Linked DNA regions of Homo sapiens: all the other regions are linked to region 2. The links are contacts of gene promoters, found by promoter capture Hi-C in human tissues and cell types (Jung and others, 2019). All regions are on one chromosome and are shown on one strand. Each heading gives the region's core, a stretch centred on a gene start or on the middle of the fragment in contact. The rest is flanking DNA. Distances are from core to core; before and after follow the strand shown. Region 1 overlaps CMSS1 (cms1 ribosomal small subunit homolog). Region 2 holds the start of NIT2 (nitrilase family member 2). Region 3 overlaps CMSS1 (cms1 ribosomal small subunit homolog).

The links. Contacts are between HindIII fragments. The study calls those that stand out against the background at their distance.
Region 1: a fragment that was not itself captured here is called in contact with the fragment with the promoter of NIT2 in region 2 in 2 of the 25 tissues and cell types used here (lymphoblastoid cells and thymus).
Region 3: a contact is called between a fragment that was not itself captured here and the fragment with the promoter of NIT2 in region 2, in 2 of the 25 tissues and cell types used here (IMR-90 fibroblasts and aorta).

Annotation. Positions count from the first base shown.
Region 1 is chr3:100,074,216-100,077,530 of GRCh38, reverse strand. All of the region lies in intron 1 of CMSS1 (cms1 ribosomal small subunit homolog), which reads right to left. The region is part of intron 1 of FILIP1L (filamin A interacting protein 1 like); the gene reads left to right. Among named protein-coding and RNA genes, the nearest start is that of FILIP1L, 39 kb to the left of the region's middle. RefSeq lists an enhancer at 2,984-3,315. The HindIII fragment of the contact is 3,831 bases long and covers 1-3,315 here.
Region 2 is chr3:100,332,444-100,336,006 of GRCh38, reverse strand. NIT2 (nitrilase family member 2) reads right to left here and starts at 1,250. Exons shown (of 10, transcript NM_020202.5): 1 at 1,209-1,250. The coding sequence starts at 1,215. RefSeq lists silencers at 228-522, 921-1,250 and enhancers at 491-570, 691-750, 771-820, 914-1,482. The HindIII fragment of the contact is 4,697 bases long and covers 1-3,563 here.
Region 3 is chr3:99,899,445-99,903,015 of GRCh38, reverse strand. All of the region lies in intron 1 of CMSS1 (cms1 ribosomal small subunit homolog), which reads right to left. All of the region lies in intron 4 of FILIP1L (filamin A interacting protein 1 like), which reads left to right. All of the region lies in intron 1 of LOC105374010 (a long non-coding RNA gene), which reads right to left. Among named protein-coding and RNA genes, the nearest start is that of MIR3921, 63 kb to the left of the region's middle. The HindIII fragment of the contact is 3,066 bases long and covers 609-3,571 here.

The DNA.
Region 1 (3,315 bases), core at 166-2,665, 260 kb after region 2:
CTCCCCTCTCCATTTCCTTAAATCCTCCTTATCTTAAATACACACTGCCTTGCATTAACTTTTTGTGCTATAAAATCCAGCCATGGCTTAATAGCTAACCACCTTTTTTGTTTAACTACTCTTATTTTTAAACTGGTTGCTGTCCTGAAACACTCTCAGTGAAGTACAAACATACTTGCTTCTCAGATTGTAAGAGAAAGAAATGACTTTGGCTGTTGCCTGAGTCTACTTCTTAAGAACACCATGCATCACTGATTGGGAGCTCACAGGATAACGGCAGATAGAGAGTTTCTGCATGATGGTGTGTTCCCATTTGCTTGGAACCTACGAGCAACATGTGAAAGTATGCAGTTCCTAAGTTCTTTGCATGTCAAGTACAAGCTATCCAAGCATCCACTCTTCTTTCAAAGGACGCTAAATGCAAAACACAGCTGTCTGTGACCTTGGGAGACCTAACCGGAATCTGCAAACAAGCTTATGTAAGCGTACCCTGGCCAGCCTTGTTCCGAAAGCCCTCTCTAATTAAATGAGAGTTTTGATTTCTTATGTGGAACAGTAAAGGGTCTTCTGGGAAGAGACATCTCTTGCAGGAACTGTAATTTGAAAAGTAATTTTTGTCTCTATTGCATCCTTAACTACACAGGACATAATAGTGGGCAAGAAATGATAGCAGAGCTGTAAATACTGAGTAAGTCTGACTAATTCCCAGGCTGCACAAAAGATCTTATTAAACAACTTTATTAATGACCTGGAAATCTGAGAAGACGTTACATTAATAAGTTCCTCACATGGCACTAAAGGTGGAGATGGTAGAAGAAACAGAGGTGAAGTCAAACAATATTCATGGATCCCTGGAGATCAGAAAAATGAACAGTAAAGTACACAGTGAGTTCAGTCTGGCAAAATACAATTAAGTACAAGTATCCAGGAAAAAATAACTCAGAAGACTGACATTCAGTGGGGATGAAACCTCGAAAGCATGTCAAAAGCAACCAGATAGATACTGTAACCCACAGATTAGATAGGATTTTGCAATATAACAGAAATAGCAAAGCATAAAGTAGATGTGAAGCTGTCCATCAGAGGGGCTCAGCACATGCTGACAATGATAAAAGAAAAAGAAGGGTGTTGGGCGGGTGGTGAGTAAAAACAGCTCAGTTATTAAGTCCAAAAGTGTAAGCACCTGGACTTTGGCTTTAAACATTCTTTCAGAAAGATGAAAAGCATCTGAGAGGCCTTTAGAGAGGGAAAAATATATTTACAGAGATAAGCATATGATGAGAGATTAAAGGAATGAAACAGACAAGCCTCCACTGAGCAGTGACAAAAAGAGGTACTTAACTCTGATCAAAATTATTGTTTACATTTTTAAGGGTTTTCCGGGCAAGATAACTAACAAATATATTTCTTAATTATACATATGGCAGATGAAACAGTGAGTTTCCAGGAAGCATCAGCCCTGCCCAAAGCCATGTAGTTGAAAGAAGACTCAGAATCACAGAATTTTAGGCAGGAAATGATCTTAGAAATTACATAGTTTTGTGTCTTCAAAGTGAGGTCTGAGGGCCTATTGCCTGGAGAGCTTATCAGAAATGAAGATTTCTAGGCTCCAACTCAGCTCTCCTGAATCGAATCCTAATACCCCAGAAGGATTAGCTCAAGAAGCTTGTAGAGTTTAAGATAAGTTTATAGATAAGAAAAGTCAAGCTCAGAGATAAATTGCCCCAGGTCAGTCATCAATAGGTCCTGGTTTCAGGTCCAACGATGTTACTATCACTGTGGGATGAAATTCTCCCCAAATCTATAAATTGCCTTTATAATTAGTTATTACCATGTTGTGTAATTTTTCCGAGAATTTATATTATAGATGTTGCTTCATTTAATTCTTGTGTAATAAGGAAAAGAAGATAAAAGAAAACAGAGTCTGCCATCAGTGGGTATAGGAGACAGTTAAAAAAAAAAAAAGAAAAAGAAAAGAGAAGACAAAGATTGGGATATGAAGTAAAAAGCAAAAACCCGAAGCTTCGAATAAAGCTTTGAAGGTAAGAGAACTTATAAAAATGCAAGAGATGTTTAAAGAACAAATTATGGTCTTCCTAACCTCTAAGCTTCCTAAAATAAAAGTGGAATCTCTGCTCGTTATCATAAGCCCTTCTCTCCTGTAGGGTAAAGGACACGAGGATGAGAACCAGACTGTGGGTTGTCTCTGTATCCATTTCTGTGGCAGCAACTAGCATGCTCTAGATTGTTCTCTTGTGTCATTAGAAGTCCATTATTTGAAAGGTAATCATATTGCATTGATATATCTTCTTTTAGCAAAAGCTGACCAGGAAGTGTTTCAGGTTGATCATTTCTGGTTTTGACGATCTCTATCTAATGTAATCCTTGTAGGGAGAATCTGGGTTTGACCCCAGGATAAACCAAAACAAAGGGAACTAACATAGACCAATAAAATATATCCTAAAAAAATATAAGCAATTAAAATAGCTTTATACAAACAAAGGTTTATAAAAAATCATTATTATAAAAGAAAATCAGGCCGGGCATGTTGGCTCATGCCTGTAATCCCAGCACTTTGGGAGGATAAGGCTGGTGGATCACTTGAGGTCAGGAGTTCGAGACCAGCCTGGCCAACACGGCGAAACCCTGTCTCTATTAAAAAGACAAAAATTAGCCAGGAGTGGTGGTGCGCACCTGTAATCCAAGCTACTCTGGAAGCTGAGGTAAGAGAATCGCTTGAACCCAGTAGGCAGAGGTTGCAGTGAGCCAAGATCGTGCCATTGTACTCTAGCCTGGACAACAGAGTGAGACTTCGTCTCAAAAAAAAAAAAAAAAAAAAAAAAAAAAAAAAAAAATCAAATGTTGCACATGCATAGAAAATAAGATTAAAAGAAACATTGGGAACCAAACTTCAACAGAAAGATGTATTTCTCAAGCATAGTTTTTACTAGTTTTTAGATAAATAAGAAAGCTTATTTTATTATAATTTTGCCAAACATACTGGCTATAGAATAAATTTGCAAAATGATTTCTGGAACATGATAAGAGATCCACAGAGAAAAATGTAGCAGAAAGATGGGTATTCAAGTTACATTTTAGAGTAGAAAAGGCCTCTGGAAAACAGATTTCAAAGAACAAGTTAATACAAGGGAAGAAAGCCTCTGATTTTTAATAAAGCCACAACATTGACATCTTGTCTGTTCCCAGAGTGTAGGGATTCAGCAACGGAAACCTTTGCCTTGCATTTTGGAGCTGGCCTGGGAAAGCAGCGAAGAGCTCTCCACAGTCTGTGCCTGGAGGCCCAGGGGGGCTGTC
Region 2 (3,563 bases), core at 1-2,500:
GGCAAACAGATATTTTGAGCTGTTATCAGAACAGCAGATAAATCCACTAAACGTCTCCCCTCCATTTCCCAGCGTTAAGCCATTCTCCCTCCTCAGCTTCCCAAGTAGTTTGGGACTAAAGGGGCGTGCCACCACACCGGGCTAATTTTGTATTTTTTAGTACAGACAAGGTGTCGCCATGTTGCCCAGGCTGGTCTCCAACTCTTGACTCGTGAACTCAAGCGATCCTCGTGCCTCAGCTTCCCAAACTGTTGGGATTACAGGCGTGAGCCACGTGCCGGGCCATGTCTGTGCTTCCGAGGGTGGGAAAGATAAAGCTCACCATGGCTACGCTGATGGCTTCCTCTCCTACACATCTCACCCACAAGGGCGGGGTCCTCAACTAAGCTTAGGACTGCCTATCATTCTGCAAATGACCCACTCTACAGACATGCTGCAGCAGGGAAACCCCGCCACTGGGCAGTTCCTCATGCTGAGGAGGAGACGCCCGTCACTCCATCTCATCTGTAAAGTGAAGACTTTTAAGGCTGCCCTAATATTCATCATAATCTAACAACGAAGACCTTACCAAGGGGCGGAAAAAAAGAATAAAATACTGTGAGCGAAGGAAACAACAAAGGAATAACATTTAAAGCAATGTGCCAGGTCCTTCACACATTAACATCATTGTGTGAGGTATCATTAACATCATTTTACAAATAAAGAAACAGGGGACTTGCAGGGGGAAAGCTGCACAAAGTCACTGAACAAAGTAAGTGACACAGCAAGAATCCAAGTCAAAATCTGGAGCTGGAAAGTGAGTGGGGAGACGAAGAACCGCCTGGGCACCTTTGTGCAGGGCGGGGCTGGAGGAGGTCACGCAACTTGAAAACACCCAAGGGAGTTGGATCCTACCACCGCGGCCCACACCGTGGAGAAATACACGTCCATCAGCCTCTGTCAAGCAGGACGCGGCGGGTGCCGGCGCGGCCGGGTGGCCTGGTGCTTTCTGGGCCTCGCCCGCCACCCCGGAAGCCTGGAATCCCGGGAGTGCGCCCGGCCGCCCGGCCACGCGATCCCGGACCCACGCGGACGCCCGCCTCAGGGAAGGCCGCGCACGGCGGGGACGCGGGGCGGAGGGGCTGAGCCGGCCGAGCCACCGCCGGCGCCGCTCCAAAGCCTCCCCCGCGGCCCGAACTCGAGCTGCAGCGCGCGGCCGCGCCACTTACAGGTCATGACTCTGCAGACAAGCACCACCTGCGGCGCGGACTGAGCGCTGGAGATCCGGCGGACCGCGGCGTCGCTACGGTGGGGCGGGGACCGCGTCAGAGGCCCCGCCCCACCCCTCCTCCTGGCCCCGGCCGGGAGGAGAGAAGGGTCTGCGTTCATTCCAGTGCGCCTGTAACACCAGGACGGACCAACGAGAAATGGTTAATTGCAACACAGTCCGGAAAAAGCATGCCTCGAAAGGCAAAGGGCAAAAGGGAACGGCCTAAGTCGAGGTGGTGTGCTGGTGAATGTCTTAACAACCAGACTTTTCAGGGAGGAAAGCCCTGATTTGTAGCGTTTGCTGATTCTCCGCAAAAGGACTGAACTTCTAGCTGGTTGAATCACCTCTGTGGCCAGGTTAACACCGTATGCTGATGGGCTTGAGCTATTTGAACAAGTCTCTGTGACGGGGACGGAATGACCCTGGTTGGTTTAGGCACGCGAGACGTCTGTAAAATCTGACTACAAGGCTGCTAGGCCAACGGGAAAGATGCTGAGGGTTCAACGCCATGCCCTCAACAAGTCAGTCCTCGAATACATTGTCATCTCTTTGCTAATATCCTTTTTTGTTTGTTTGTTTTAGACAGGGTCTCACTCTGTCATCCAGTCAGGAGTGCAGTGCAGCAGTCTCAGCCCATTGCAGCCTCAACCTCCCGGCTCAAGCGATCCTCCGTCCTCAGCCTCCCAAGTAGCTGGGACTACAGGCACACACCACCACACCTAGCTATTTCTTTTCCTTTTTTCTTTTTCTTTCTTTCTTTCTTTTTTTTTTTTTTTTAAGTTTTTTACTTTTAATAGAGGTGGGGCCTTGCTATTTTGCCCAGGCTGGTCTCAAACTCCTGAGCTCAAGACCCTACTGCCTTAGCCTCCCAAAGTGCTGGAATTATAGGCGTGAGCTGCTGCGCCCAGCCTATAGACTATGATTTTTGCATTTTTATTTATTAGATTGCTTTTTAATTTTCGTGTTTTGTGTTTTTGTGCCTTGTCAGACTTGTGGAACAAAAATCCAAAACTTAACCACCTTTTGGAATGCCCCAGAATAGTTTATACTGAAACAGATCTTGGTTTGTAAAAGAACACTATAAAAACATTTTGGGGGCAACTAGGGAGATTTAAATATGAACGAGATATTTGATGCTTTTCTGAATTATTTTGTGTGCTATAGTGTTGTGCTTGTGACAATTCTTTACTCTTAGAAAATGAGGAAGTATTAGGGATGAACCATCAGAATGTTTGACTTGAAAATCGTCAGCAAAAAGAAAACACATAAGATAAAGCAAATATGGCAAAATGTTAATTATTAAATCTAGGAGGAGGACACAGCTGTTCATGGTACTAGATTAAAACTTTGTAGAAGTTTAAAATTTTAAGCTTTCATAAAAAAAAATTGGGGGGAAATACATAGCAGTTATGGTCTTTCTGCAGCTTAAGAGACTATCTGGACTTGGCTTTGTAGCAGGAAGATCTTTAAAAACCTTTTCATTTCTGCTATGCTTATTAACCTATGAGGTTTCAGGGTCAACCTGTGGTCACTTACAACCTGTTAAAAAAATTCATCTAGATTTCCAAATTTATTGGACTAACATTGTAACTAATAGTGGTCCTAAACCTGGCTGGAAATGTTATTTGAAGTGCTTGTTCAAAATGCAAATTATTTCATTTTTTTAGAAGTGGATTCTTACAGTGTTGCCCAGGCTGGTCTCAAACTCCTAGGCTCAAGTGATCCTCCCACTTTGGCTTCAAAAAGTGCTGGCCTTATAGGCATGAGCCATGGCATCCAGGTGGAGATGCCCAGTAGGCAACCGGACCAAAGCCTCAAGCTCAGAAGATGTCTGGGCTGGAAATTGACTTGGGAGTCACCAGCAGTTTTAACTAAGAGGAAGCTCTGAATTTGGATGAGAACACACAAGCGGAGTATGAAAGGCACACGCAAAAGAAGAAGGGCCTGTGGAGCCTGGGAAGGAGCCATTAGAGGAGAAGGACCAGGCCGGGCGCCACTGCCTGGTGGAGGAACAGCTGTGTCCTCCTCCTAGATTTAATAATTAACATAATCCCAGCACTTCAGGAGGTGGAGGCAGGTGGATCAAGAGGTCAGGAGCTCGAGACCAGCCTGACCAGCATGGTGAAACCCCGTCTCTACTAAAAATGCAAAAATTAGCTGGGCGTGGTGGCACACACCTGTAATCCCAGCTACTCAGGAGGCTGAGACAGCAGAATCACTTGAACCTGGGAGGCGAATGTTGCGGTGAGCCGAGATTGTGCCACTGCACACCAGCCTGGGTGACAGAGCCAGACTCCATTAAAAAAAAAAAGAG
Region 3 (3,571 bases), core at 892-3,391, 430 kb after region 2:
GTTTATATCCTTAATCATGAAACCTCAGATTCTAACAGTTCTAGGTTTAGGTGAACAGGAGTATTTGTCCTGCCACACTGCTTATGATTTTATAGATTTTAGTTGCTTTAAATAAATCACTTTCATAGATTTTTTTCCTCTTTAATCTATCAATTTATCATCTAAATTTCAGACTATCTTCACATGGAAGTTACCCCATTACCATTCTGTCTGTGTAACCTCCAAATTCTGTTAAACCTTTTCCATGACAGGCAACTAGAATAGTAGAAAGCATAACATGGATATGCCTGATTTTTAATAAAAAATAAGATCACACTATTGATTTAGTGTGAATCTCTTCCTGACAAGCATTTTGTTGACTTGTTAATCTTTTTGGTTGTCCAGTGTCTACTGGTAACAATGGACTATAATCCAAGGTTTCTTCCCTGGATCAAAACTATAGTTTTCAGATATAGTTTGAATTACTACCCTTCACACCATTTCCTCAGAATGAGCTGACAGCTAGATACCCTTATATATCAAGATAACTTCCTATTACCATGCCATAGAATCAGAAGGTATTTCATTTTCACTACCTTTTTTCATGTCCTCCCATGGAAATGCATCTGAGAAACTGCTTCTTGTAAAACATGAGCAAATGAGAATGAGTTGAATATCTGTTCAATTCAGTTCAATTCAACAGATATCTATTCAGCACTGACTCTTTCCCAGGTGCTGGGTGTAATAGAAACTGTTATGAGTAACCTCATACTTTTGGTTGTCAAGAGACCATGCCCCCAAATTCCTACTCAAAAAAATGTCACATGGTACTAAGAATGTCTCGAATACTAAGAGTCAGTTACACTAATTTTATTGTCCTCCACAAATGTCTAATATAACATCATGAATATTTCTATTACTTAGGAGGTCAGTGAAAGCAAGCCAATCATTTAAATATTTTGTCTCTAAAAAATAAAACATAGTTGGCTTAACACTGATTCTTGTAAGACCTCATATATTACTGGCAGATTATAGGAAATTAATGAAAAAAACACTCTGTGTTTTGTTTTGTTTATTGGCATCATTATCAGCAACACATATTTTGTGTACCTACTACACAAAAAACATTATGCTGAGCTCTACTAGGGACAAGGCAGGTGGTACCACTCACAAAAAAATCAAATGTATAAATCTTAAAAATGTGTGTGTATGTGTGTGTGTTGAGACTCTTCCTAACCTAGCTGGAATCTGTGCTATTTATCAACAAGATAATGCAGAGAAAAATACCTTACCCATTACTTACATCCCGTCCAGAGTTAATAAAGGAAAAATCACTTGGCTGAGAGTAGAGTTACACAACTTGATTATGCAAAGAGACTGAACTTTGACTATTTAGCTTTAGAATACACATCGCTGATATTTAAGCAGTGTAAACTATGTAATATTATTGTCAGCACAAATCATAGGCCTTGATGTACAGTGAGCTTTCCCGACGAACATCTGGCTAATAGCCAAGCAAAAGTACATAATTTGAAACACTCAATCAGTTTCATTCTGAGGCATTTTGTTCAGTGTTTAATAGCTTCTCCAGGGACAGGAAAATTACAAAAGTGCATTGTTTTGACATGAGCTAAAATGAGTCATCGCTTGTCACTACATTTTTGAGGATTTGGCATTAATCTTCTGAGACAACAAACCATAAACATTAGAAATAAATATCAATTTTCCTAAACAGTTTAGTAAAGGGAGACTACTCTTCTCATTGGAGCAATTAAGTTGGCATCTCTAAAGGAAGGTACTATCCTATTTCAACGTGTAGCCATTTTGTTTTTCTAAACAACACTTTCCTGAAGATTTGTAATGACCATCTAAGACCCAATCCTTAAAGCAATACTAAAGCTTACTTGATTTGTATTAAATAACAAGTTAAAAGAATGTTGTATACAGTTTAATCCTTTGGTAAATTCCACACCAAATGTTATCCAGTATTTCCACCCAGTATTCCCTGCCTGCCTTCATAATTATCAATAAGAAGCAAAGCAAACTGGCTTGAGTTTCAACTCCTGGATTCTCCAGGGTCCAGATCCTACTACCATCATGCCCCTTCCCCTCAGGCATACTCTAGGGCCTAGGCCAATTTCATTTTCCTTTAGATCAGTGCTTCTAACACTTTGCTACATGTAAGAATCACCAGAGAAGCTTTTAAAAAACCTGATAACCGGGGCACATCAATTAGGTCAGAATCTCTGAGGCTGAAACAGCAACTGTGCTAAAAGCTCACACCAGGTAGTTCCAACGTGCAGCTCAGTTTGAGTATCAGCACTTAAGACTTGCGTGGAAAAGAAGAAAGAGGGAAGATTACACAATGATCAGCCCATTTGGTACTTTATGGAAGTTCTGATGAATATTAAGTGTGTGAAGAAATGGTTGGAACAAATAACTTTTATGAAATTACACCTTAGTTATAACATAGGGCTAAAGGTATGGCATTTGGGGCCAAACTTCCTTGGTTTGAAATCTTGTCTATGGCCATACCACCCTGAACGCACTCTATCTCATCTGAAATCTGGTTATTTATGACCTCTTAGAGACTCAGTTTCTTCATCTATTCAATGGGGATAACCCTTATAGGGCTGCTGTAAAGATTAAATGAATTAATTTATATCAATATAAAGGGTTAAAAATAGTGTTTAACATACAAGAAGCACCAGGTATGTGTTAGTTGTTATTAATATCCTCATCATCACCATCTTTGTTTTTTGCACCTCATCAATGTAGATGAGTTGAATATTCTGTCTCAAACTCAAGGAGGTTGAGTGGTTTTGACTTCCATCCTGTAGTCATAAATTTTACTAATGATATCACCATTATATATAATATTTTTAATTTTTAAATTAATTCATCCAATACATATTTACTGAATACCTGCTATGTGTGAAACACTGTTCTAGATATGTATTACATACTAACTTTTCAAATCGCTTTCACATACATTTATATTTATTTCATCCTAAAGTCCTGACAAGTTGGTTCTGACCTCAGAATTATACGATTTCAAAGATCCAGTAGAACCAGAACACCGTATTTAGCACCTTAGGAATGTACTAGTAACAGCTAACTAGTTAAGCCCTACTCTAAGCACTTAAAGTTTGTAACTCATTTAAATATAACAACCCTATGAGGAAGGTACTCTCACCATTCCCATTTTACAGATGAGAAAACGGTGGCACAGAGAAGTTATGCAATTCAACATGCAAACCCAGGGAGTCTGGTTCATCACCCTGGGAGTTAATGTGCATTAAGAAAAGATGCCCTGAAGGTGGACCATAATGGAATCACAATCAAGGAGGTGGGAGTCCAAAGCATCTATCATAACAATTTCAGGAACAGTGTACTTTATGTCAGATTCCTAGTACTTTGTCCTAGAAATAGTTTGCTGAAGAATGCAATAGGGGTTAGGAAACTGCTAGAAAAAAGCAACAACAGCAATCACAACAGCTACCATTTAGATCTCACAAAAAAACTAAATCCTTTATATACAATAACTTGTTTAGTTGTGTCATTAATATAATTCATGGAAAACTTTGTAAAA